2 separate regions of the Homo sapiens genome follow, and region 2 is linked to region 1. Evidence: promoter capture Hi-C in 16 types of primary human blood cells and fetal thymus (Javierre and others, 2016). All regions are on one chromosome and are shown on one strand. Each heading gives the region's core, a stretch centred on a gene start or on the middle of the fragment in contact. The rest is flanking DNA. Distances are from core to core; before and after follow the strand shown.

What was found. The method cuts DNA at HindIII sites, captures the fragments that hold promoters and counts their contacts. A CHiCAGO score of 5 or more calls a contact.
Region 2: a contact is called between a fragment that was not itself captured here and the fragment with the promoter of H4C8 in region 1, in 1 of 17 cell types (megakaryocytes). The highest score is 5.0, in megakaryocytes.

Annotation. Positions count from the first base shown.
Region 1 is chr6:26,283,397-26,288,049 of GRCh38, reverse strand. It overlaps H4C8 (H4 clustered histone 8), which reads left to right and starts at 2,516. Exons shown (of 1, transcript NM_003543.4): 1 at 2,516-2,924. The coding sequence starts at 2,551. The coding sequence ends at 2,862. TRX-CAT1-2 (tRNA-iMet (anticodon CAT) 1-2) reads right to left here and starts at 1,524; the gene lies at 1,453-1,524. LOC124901287 (a long non-coding RNA gene) reads right to left here and starts at 2,370. Exons shown (of 2, transcript XR_007059520.1): 1 at 1,997-2,370. RefSeq lists a silencer at 1,736-1,785 and enhancers at 2,126-2,515, 2,666-2,825, 2,204-2,939, 2,032-3,231, 2,940-3,675. The HindIII fragment of the contact is 3,784 bases long and covers 1-3,218 here.
Region 2 is chr6:26,494,643-26,499,295 of GRCh38, reverse strand. All of the region lies in intron 1 of LOC107986583 (a long non-coding RNA gene), which reads left to right. Among named protein-coding and RNA genes, the nearest start is that of BTN1A1, 3.3 kb to the left of the region's middle. The HindIII fragment of the contact is 2,095 bases long and covers 1,688-3,782 here.

The sequences.
Region 1 (4,653 bases), core at 1,267-3,766:
TCTGTGTTCATCCTCCTTCATTCAGTCCTATAGTAACAGCCACATTTACCTGTGTATATACATATTTTTTCTGCTTTTCTTGCATTGTATCCTGTGCTGTAATGAATCTTTTTTGTTTTTATTTTTAAAACATGTTCTTTAACCCAAACAAAAAATGGTCAATAGATATAATAAATCTTAACTGAGAGTATGCTGAGTCATGTGATTACTTCTGGTGAATTACTGAATTAGTGGGTGGTCATGGGATTACAAGCACTATTTTCCTTATTCCCAGTGCACTTAGTGTACAATCCTTTCACAGAATTACTGTATTGCACTCTACATATTTACTTGTTTAAAAGCATATGGGCCAGGTGCGTTGGCTTAAGCCTGTAATCCCAGCAGTTTGGGAGGCCAAGGCTGGCGGATTGCCTGAGGTTAGGAGTTCAAGACTAGCTTGGCCAACATGGTAAAACCCTGCCTTTATTAAAAATACAAAAATTAGCTGAGTGTGATGGCAGGCACCTGTAATCCCAGCTACTTGGGAGGCTGAGGCAGGAGAATCTCTTGAGCCCAGGAGGTGGAGGTTGCAATGAGCCAAGATCGTGCCACTGCACTCCAGCCTGGGCAACAAGAGTGAGACTTCATCTCAAAAACAAATAAACAAACAAAAAACAAAAAACAAAAACAACAAAAGCATATCTAGACTGTAGACTACTTAAGGTTTTTTTTTTTTCTTAGTTCCTAATACAGTATGTGACACATAAATATCTGAATAGGAATCCTTTCTGAGAGAGAGAAGCATAAAGCAGTCCACACATATGTTTAAAAAATAAGCACAGCGAATAGTTCTATTTGAGATATTAAAGGATGGTAGAGAGTAGAGACACATTTACCAGTAGGGTCCGCAAAAATGTTTTTCTCAGGTCAGAGTTCAATCAGTGCTATGAAGACTCCACACCCACCTCAAAATGCAACTCATTTTCCGAGATTAAGATCCTTGTAGGTGAAAAGAATCTGTGTGGGGATTTAGGAATTCCTAGTCGATTGCCTTAACTACTTGGCAAATAGTGCTTTCTGAATTATGTATCAAAAGATATAAAACTCCATTCCTGGGCTCCCACCCCACCCCACCCTTGGCACTCAGTTTATGTAAGCATTCTCCTTGCTTGGCAGGTTAACTTACAACTGTCATAACTGGCTGCAACAGTGGTATAGCCTCTAAACAAGAGAAATTTGCTTTGTTTACAGATGACATATTGATTAATGACACTTGGGTGTCCATGAAAATCAAAATTGTACATGCAGAGATTGTAGTTTCACATTATTTCCCGGAAATGCTTGTAATTCTGGAATTAAAGAAATACTCGGGTTCATTTTGTTTTCTTTCGTCATTGTTTAACCTAAAAAACTGTAACTTAAAAAAAAGGGATCCTCAGGAAAATAGACGGGGGGGGAGAAAAAAAAAGGACCTAGCAGAGGATGGTTTCGATCCATCGACCTCTGGGTTATGGGCCCAGCACGCTTCCGCTGCGCCACTCTGCTGTTCTGCCAGGCACACGGTCTCACAGTACTCTTAACTACTTACAGGAGATGCGTTCAGACTACCTCGTAATTTAAGAAAAAACCTACGAGCAGTTGCCTACTTCTTTGGCTACCACAGGTTGCCAACTCACTTTGGAAAAAGGAATCACCAGAATCAAACAGAAAACAAAACTAGGGATAGAAAAATAAATATCAATACACTGGTGGGCTAGGCGCGGTAGCTCACGCCTGTAGTCACTGCACTTTGGAAGACCCAGGCAGGCAACATAGCGAGACCCTGTCTCAATAAAATTAAAAAAAGGAAAAAAAAAAACCCCCACCCCGAAACCTACACACTGGGTGCAGTTGTGAGGGGCAGTTAGATATTTAAATGGCAATTACAAATTTTAATAAGCAGGGAAAGAAGAGAACAAACTGGGAATAGAATCAGGCCTCCGCGCGGAGGGCAATAATTCTACCACGAATCACTAACCTATCATGCCTTCGCCATCGGGAAGAAAACCCTTTTGGTTATGTTTCCCTTGGCTTGGTGATGGAGAGGGTGAAATCTTGCAGTTTTCAAACACTTCCGAAGGGGGGTTTCGGTCCGCATGTGCTTTACAGCCGGCAGCAGAAAGCCAGTCACTGTGACCTTGGGGACAAAGCTGCACTCCTCAGGCTTCCGGTCTTGTGGACCGAGGCTCCTCTCCAATCGTCCTAAAGCAACTGAAGGAACAATTGATAACAATTTAAACATGTTAATTTATTTAATCTGATTTGGTTGTTAAAACAGCCTTAAAACTCTCATTCCTATTTCCCAGCAATTGCAAGAGACGCCTCCGCGGAGCCGGCGCTCAGATGCCAAAGGCTGGAGTCGTTGGTGACGTCATCCAGGGCTGGGCTATGCGGGGTGGGGCCAAGAAGCAGGACCAAAGTTCCGGTATGCGCGCTTTCAGTCTTCAATTAGGTCCGAATTCCCGGCATATAAGGGCGTTGCTTTGCCTTGGCGTTTAGGTTTCTTAAGTTGGTTTTAGAAGTTGCTTAGTCATGTCTGGCCGTGGTAAAGGTGGAAAAGGTTTGGGTAAGGGAGGAGCTAAGCGTCATCGCAAGGTTTTGCGCGATAACATCCAGGGCATCACTAAGCCAGCTATCCGGCGCCTTGCTCGTCGCGGCGGTGTCAAGCGAATTTCTGGCCTTATCTATGAGGAGACTCGTGGTGTTCTGAAGGTGTTCCTGGAGAACGTGATTCGTGACGCTGTCACTTACACAGAGCACGCCAAACGCAAGACCGTGACAGCAATGGATGTGGTCTACGCGCTGAAGCGACAGGGACGCACTCTTTACGGCTTCGGTGGCTAAGGCTCCTGCTTGCTGCACTCTTATTTTCATTTTCAACCAAAGGCCCTTTTCAGGGCCGCCCACTTTTTTCATAAAAGAGCAGACATCTTGTTATCCTGCTTTGTTCCAGATTTTTGCTGAGAAGTAGTTACTGTGCACATGTGTAGATTTGCAGGTAACGTTTAATTACTCGTGCTTAATCTCGCATGTTTAGGATTTGGGCATAAAGTACTTAAAGCCACTGTTTTCTGCTTGAGGGAAGTTGGTATGTTGAATATGTTTAGCTTTCTTGTGGCATTTTAACACTAGATATCAGTGAGTAAGCTGGATTGTGACAGTTTATAATTCCCGTGGGCCTTCCTCCTTCAGTTTAAGCTTGAAGCGTTCGTAAGGTTCTCAAAGACTACAGAAGTTGGAAACTTCGCGGAGAGACTGCAAGTTACCCTTTCCAAAATGGCGGGAAGGGCTAAAAACAAAGAAAGCTCGCACCCAGACGGCGGGCCTTAAACCAAGGCGAATCCGTGAGCGCAACACATCTGCGTGAGTAGGATCGCAGACCCAAGTCCAGGCGGCGTGCGCGCTGCTGCTTTTGACTTGGTGACAAAACTCGTCTACAAAAGGCAGTGTGGGGTAACAATATAAATGTTCACTTGAGAGCTTGCAAGTATTGTTTCCAATAGACTTAAAATGTGTTTTTGAATATTACGAAAATATTAAAAGGTAGGGTACCGCTTAGTGAGCAATATAGAAACATCACCATAACTTATTTTGTTGTTGTTGAGACGGAGTTTTGCTCTTTCATCCAGGCTGGAGTGCAGTGGCGCGATTTCGGCTCACCGCAACCTCCGCCTTACAGTTTCAAGCGATTCTCCTGCCTCAGCCTCCTGAATAGCTGGTATTACAGCCGCCCGCCTAATTTTTGTGTTTTTAGTAGAGATGGGGTTTCACCATGTTGGCCAGGCTGGTCTCGAACTCCTGATCTCGTGATCCACCCGCCTCGACCTCCCAAAAGTGTTGGGATTACAGGCATGAGGCACTGCGCCCGGCCACGAAAACTTAAATTCTTAACCAGCAATGATCGCCTTTTGAAAAAGTACACATTCAGGCATCAGGACAATGATTTGCTAGAGACCAAACTTGTAGGAGATTTGGATTGGCTTTTTTTTTCCTTTTTTGAGGCGGAGTCTCACCTTCGCCATGCTGGAGTGAAGTGGCGTGATCTCGGCTCACTGGAACTTCTGCCTCCCGAGTTCAAGCGATTCTACTGCCTTAGCCTCCCAAGTGACTACAGGCTCGCGCCACCACGCCCAGCTAATTTTGGTATTTTTAAGTATAGGTGGGGTTTCACCATGTTGGCCAGAATGGTCTCCATCTCTTGAGCTCGTGATCCGCCCGCCTCGGCTTCCCAAAGTGTTGGGATTACAGGCGTGAGCCACCGCGCCCGGCCTGGATTGGCTTTTCTTACGGCATCATTTTACTTGGCTTCTATACTCTGTCCTGAGCAGAAGTGACTTTTATATACTTAGTTGAAATCAGGTTAATATGCTTGTCAGTTTATACAGAGACATATGTCTGGTTTATCTACGTTGAAGATAATAGGACAATTGCTGCTTTAGGATGATAGTTCCATTGTAAAATCAGATTTTTCCTCTTTGTGGTCAGCAAGCAAATTGTAGGGTTATAACTTTGAAATCGAGAAAATCAATGGAGTTAGGGTTTCATCTTTTTTAAAGATATGCACTTGTACATTAATATGAAAAGAACGATGTTATCAGAGCTAAGGCACTGGTTTGTATGAGGATATAAATTTAA
Region 2 (4,653 bases), core at 1,486-3,985, 210 kb before region 1:
AATAGAGTCATCAGATCAAATGGTATAAGCATATTTCTTTTCTTTTCTTTTTTTTTTTGAGACGGAATCTCACTCTGTCGCCTAGGCTGGAGTGCAGTGGCGTAATCTTGGCTCACTGCAACCTCCGCCTCCAGGGTTCAAAGGATTTTCCTCTTGCCTCAGCCTCCTGAGTAGCTGAGATTACAGGCACGTGCCACCATGCCCAACTAATTTTTGTATTTTAGTGGAGACAGGGTTTCACCATGTTGGCCAGGCTGGTCTCGAACTCCTGAGCTTCAATGATCTGCTTGCCTTGGTCTCCCAAAGTGCTGGGATTACAGGTGTGAGCCACCATGCCCGACCTAGTATCAGCATATTTCTACAGTCCCTTCCTGAAATGTTGAATCCATCACACCCTCAATGGAGGTGCCCTCACCTAATCCCTGCTAGCACTGAGAAGTTATTATTTCACATCCTTACTATTGGGATGGGTCAAGTTAATTAAATTATTATTTATTGTGCCTTTATATGTTAGCGAGGCTGGAGTTTTTTATGTGTTAATTAGACATTTAATACATTCTAGAAATGAGCTGTTCAGGCCAGTTGCCCATTGTTTTCAAGACTGGTCCTGGTGCTAGTTCTTAGCAATCTGTGTGAATTTTAATAACTTAAAAATATCAATCCTGTATTATATTTGTAACAAACATTCTTCCCAGTTTTGTTATTTATCTTTGAGTTGGAATTGTGATTAAGACAAAAGACAGTTGCTCCATTTCACCCACCAGACTGCCAAGAGAATGATCTTTCCCAAATGCAAATCTGATCATATCACTTTTTGCTTAAAAATCCTTCCACATCTCCCTAGTGACTTCAGCATCAAGTTTATGCACCTTAATCTGGTTAGGAAAATACTGTAGGTCTAGCTTGATCTGGTCAAGAAAATACTCTGGCAGTCTCCTTGCTTCTTTCCTGAGGGCTTTTTCTCCATTCCCCTTCTCCTTCCCTGCTTGTCCACCCACAGGCTGAATTTGGAGTGGGTGTGGTTACCTCAACCCACAATGCCTCTCAGGCCTCCAGATAGCAGTGCTTGCCTTCCCCCTTCCAGAATATTCTGTCTCTTCTTAACTTTTTTTTTTTTTTTTTTTTGAGATGGAGTCTCACTTTGTCACCCAGGCTGGAGGGCAGTGGCACAATTTCAGCTCACTGCAACCTCTGACTCCCAGGTTCAAGCATTTCTCCTGCCTTAGCCTCCCAAGTAGCTGGGACTACAGGCGTGCCCCACCACGCCTGGCTTTGTTGGTATTTTTGGTAGAGGTGGGGTTTCCCAATGTTGGCCAGGCTGGTTTTGAACTCCTGACCTCAAGTGATACACCCGCCTCGGTCTCCCAAAGTGCTGGGATTATAGGTGTGAGCCACCGCGACTAGCCTGTTCCCTCTTATCTTTATGATGAACTCCTATTCTTCCCTCAAAAGCTCATGTAAGGGCTGCACCTTCTGCAATGTCTTTCAGACATTGCATCAAGCAGATGCAACCTCACTTCTAGGGCTTCTCCTGATTAGCCTTTGTCCCCTCCAAGAGAAGTAGGCTTTCCTGGAAGATGGGCCAGGTGTATCCTGTGACACTTGGTCCCTTTCTCATGGCAGACACCTGATCTGAGCCCTAGTTTCAGAAGCAGATGTGTTTATTGTCATCTTTTGTTTCCAAGCTTGTCTTCCCCTCTTAAACTGAGCTTTCCTAGTTCTTACTCCCTGTCTTCTCATCAGCACATAGACTGAAATAGAATTTGTGGCTTCATTCAAACCCATCGTTCCTTAGCCTTCCTAGTTTGAAAGGCTCCTGTCCCATTTTCCTCTTCATGCTTAACTTTCTGATCATATCACCTATAATCTATTTCCCCTTCCTCATTTCACTTCTCTTATCAGCCCCTTTCAATGATACTTTTGTCTCATGCTTCATATTCTCATAAGACATTGTTTTCAGGGGGGAAAAAGAGCTTTTACTTGCAACTAACGGAGCCATACTGAAAAGAAAGGGTCTGGGGGAAAGAAGAAGAAAGTACTTGGAGCTCAAGCTATTGCATAACAGACACTATTTTGATTGGATAGCATCTGGGTCTTTTTGACAGAAACCAAGTCATCAGTCTTACACAATGAAAGACAGGATCTCTAAATTTCCCAAGGTTTAGAGAACAGAACCTCTAGGATGCCCCTAGGATGCCCCTGCCTGTCATGGTTCCTGAATGGGAGAGGCCTTGTGAAGTGGTGCTGCTCTTAGGAAGTTCCTGCTCTTCCCAGGCCCACTGCGAGATAGAAACAAAAACTTCTTCTTCTTAGACATGAAATCATTTGGGCTGAGGAATATGATATGCTTCATATGGAACCTAATGATAAAATGTCAGCATTTGTTTCCCCTCCCTGCTTTTCACTATAATCTGTTCAAATTTCTCAGTGTTATCCTCATGTCAAATTCAATGGTTACTCTCGTTCTCATCTTACTTGACTTTCATCACTGAGGCAACCATTTGAGTCTATTTATTTATTTTGAGACGGAGTCTTACTCTGTCGCCCAGGCTGGAGTGCAGTGGCACAATCTCGGCTTACTACAACCTCCTGGGTTAAAGCGATTCTCGTGCCTCAGCCTCCCAAGTAGCTGGGATTATAGACATGCACCACCATGCCTGGCTAATTTTTGTACTTTTAGTAGAGATGGGGTTTCACCGTGTTGGCCAGGCTGGTCTTGAATTCCTGACCTCAAGTGATCTGGCTGCCTTGACCTCCCAAACTGCTGGGAATACAGGTGTGAGCCACCACGCCCAGTCAACGTCTTTTCTTTTTAAATGTGGTTCAGTTGTTTTATGTGGTACTTATCTACATATTTCTCAAGACAATATCATTCTGTCAAAGTTTTTAAAAAAGCTCTTTATATGTATTACATGTATTTAAAAAAAAAACCAAATGGGACAAAGTGCTTTTAAGAAATGTCAGTTCCACTTCCCACTTCCAACCTATTACTCCTGAATCCCCAGAAACAGCTTCTTTAAGTGCTCAGTTGTTTTATCTGGTACTTATCTGCATATTTCTAGAGACAATACCATATTTATGCTGCTATTTCTCTATATATCCATTTCTAGATATTACTTTTCTATACCCTATTATGATCAATTATGATTTAGCTCTCTTATACCACCAGTAGTAATACATCACAAATTCTGTTCCATATTTCCAATACTGTGGCTATGTAACTATAGTTTTACGGGACCAAGTATCATATATGATTACATTTATTTTCATGTACAACCTCTTGTTTTTTTAGGAGTAGGGAGGGGGTGAAATGATTCATTTTTGTTCCTTTGTTTAGTTTTCTTTATTCCCCTCACAGGTTTTTCCCACTCCTCTAATTGACTCTAAGCACAGTTTCCATAGTCAAGCATATCAGGTAATTTATCAATCCCCTCTCTTCATTCTTCCCAGAGCAGCACTTGGGTCTTACTGAAAAAGAGATTCTGATTTAGTAGGTCTGGAATAGGACCAGGATTCTCACTGCTAGTTGCTCTGGTCCACAGGTCCACAGGGCAAGATCTACTGCCTACAGCTCTTTTTTTTTTTCTCTTTCTTGAGTGGGGGTGGTGTTCGGTGTAGGGTGTGGGGTTGGGGGGTGGTCTTGCTATGTTGCCCAGGCTGGACTCAAAATTCCTGGGCTCAAGGGACTTCCCACTTCAGCCTCTCCAGTAGCTAGGAATACAGGCACGTGCCACTGCACCCACCCAGCTATAGCTCTTTATCTTGCTCCTTATTCAGAAGCTTTCTGTGAAGAGGCAGCTACCAGCTTTGCATGAATTATGGAGATGCCTCTGAGGGATGGTTGTGGCTCAAGGTCTTGGGCTTGTTATACATGTGGCCATACTGAGCCAAGACAAAGGACTGGGGTGAATGGGCATCATGTACAATACTGTATTCTTCTGTGGCTTACTAGTGAGCTTTGTGGTCAGCTGCTCTTTCTTGGGGGCACACACTATTGATATGGTAGTAATAATCAGATATGACCTAATGGTGCTTCAACATTATTACAGTGACATAATTCCGCTATTTACCAAGCCCGTGTTAAAATTATACATACAGAGTTTGTATAATGTTATAATTATAATTTGTGTAATTTATGCACAACAGCTTGCATATGTGAAGGTGGAGGGGAAGTGAAGTGAAGATGGTGTGGAGATGAAGATGGTGGACTTCTGTGTGGAAGAGGGGTTAGCAGGGGTTTGCCCTGGGGAAGCAAAAGGCTGAGATCTGGTAGAGTGTGGACGTCCCTGAATTATATTCTTGGAAGTACTTTTGAAATGGAGAGTTCCTAGAACAAGAGGGGTAGACAGGGAACTTATGGGAGCCAATAAATTGAGGTTGGATTGAGTAAGAGAGAAAGAGTTCAGGGAAGGGATCAAGGTTGCGTGGACCACTGTTTGAGTTCTGCCCAGAATTTATCCCATTGCAGCCTCTGAGCTATCTTCCATATCTGTTCATCTTAGTCTTTCTTACTGTTACCTGGTGGGGTAGATCCTTCCAAAACAGGTGTACATTCTCCCGCGCGAGGACAGGCTATGATAAATGTGAAAATGCAAGACTTAGACATCTTAGGAGCAGCCTATGAATTCATTATTGTCCTGACTTCACCCTACT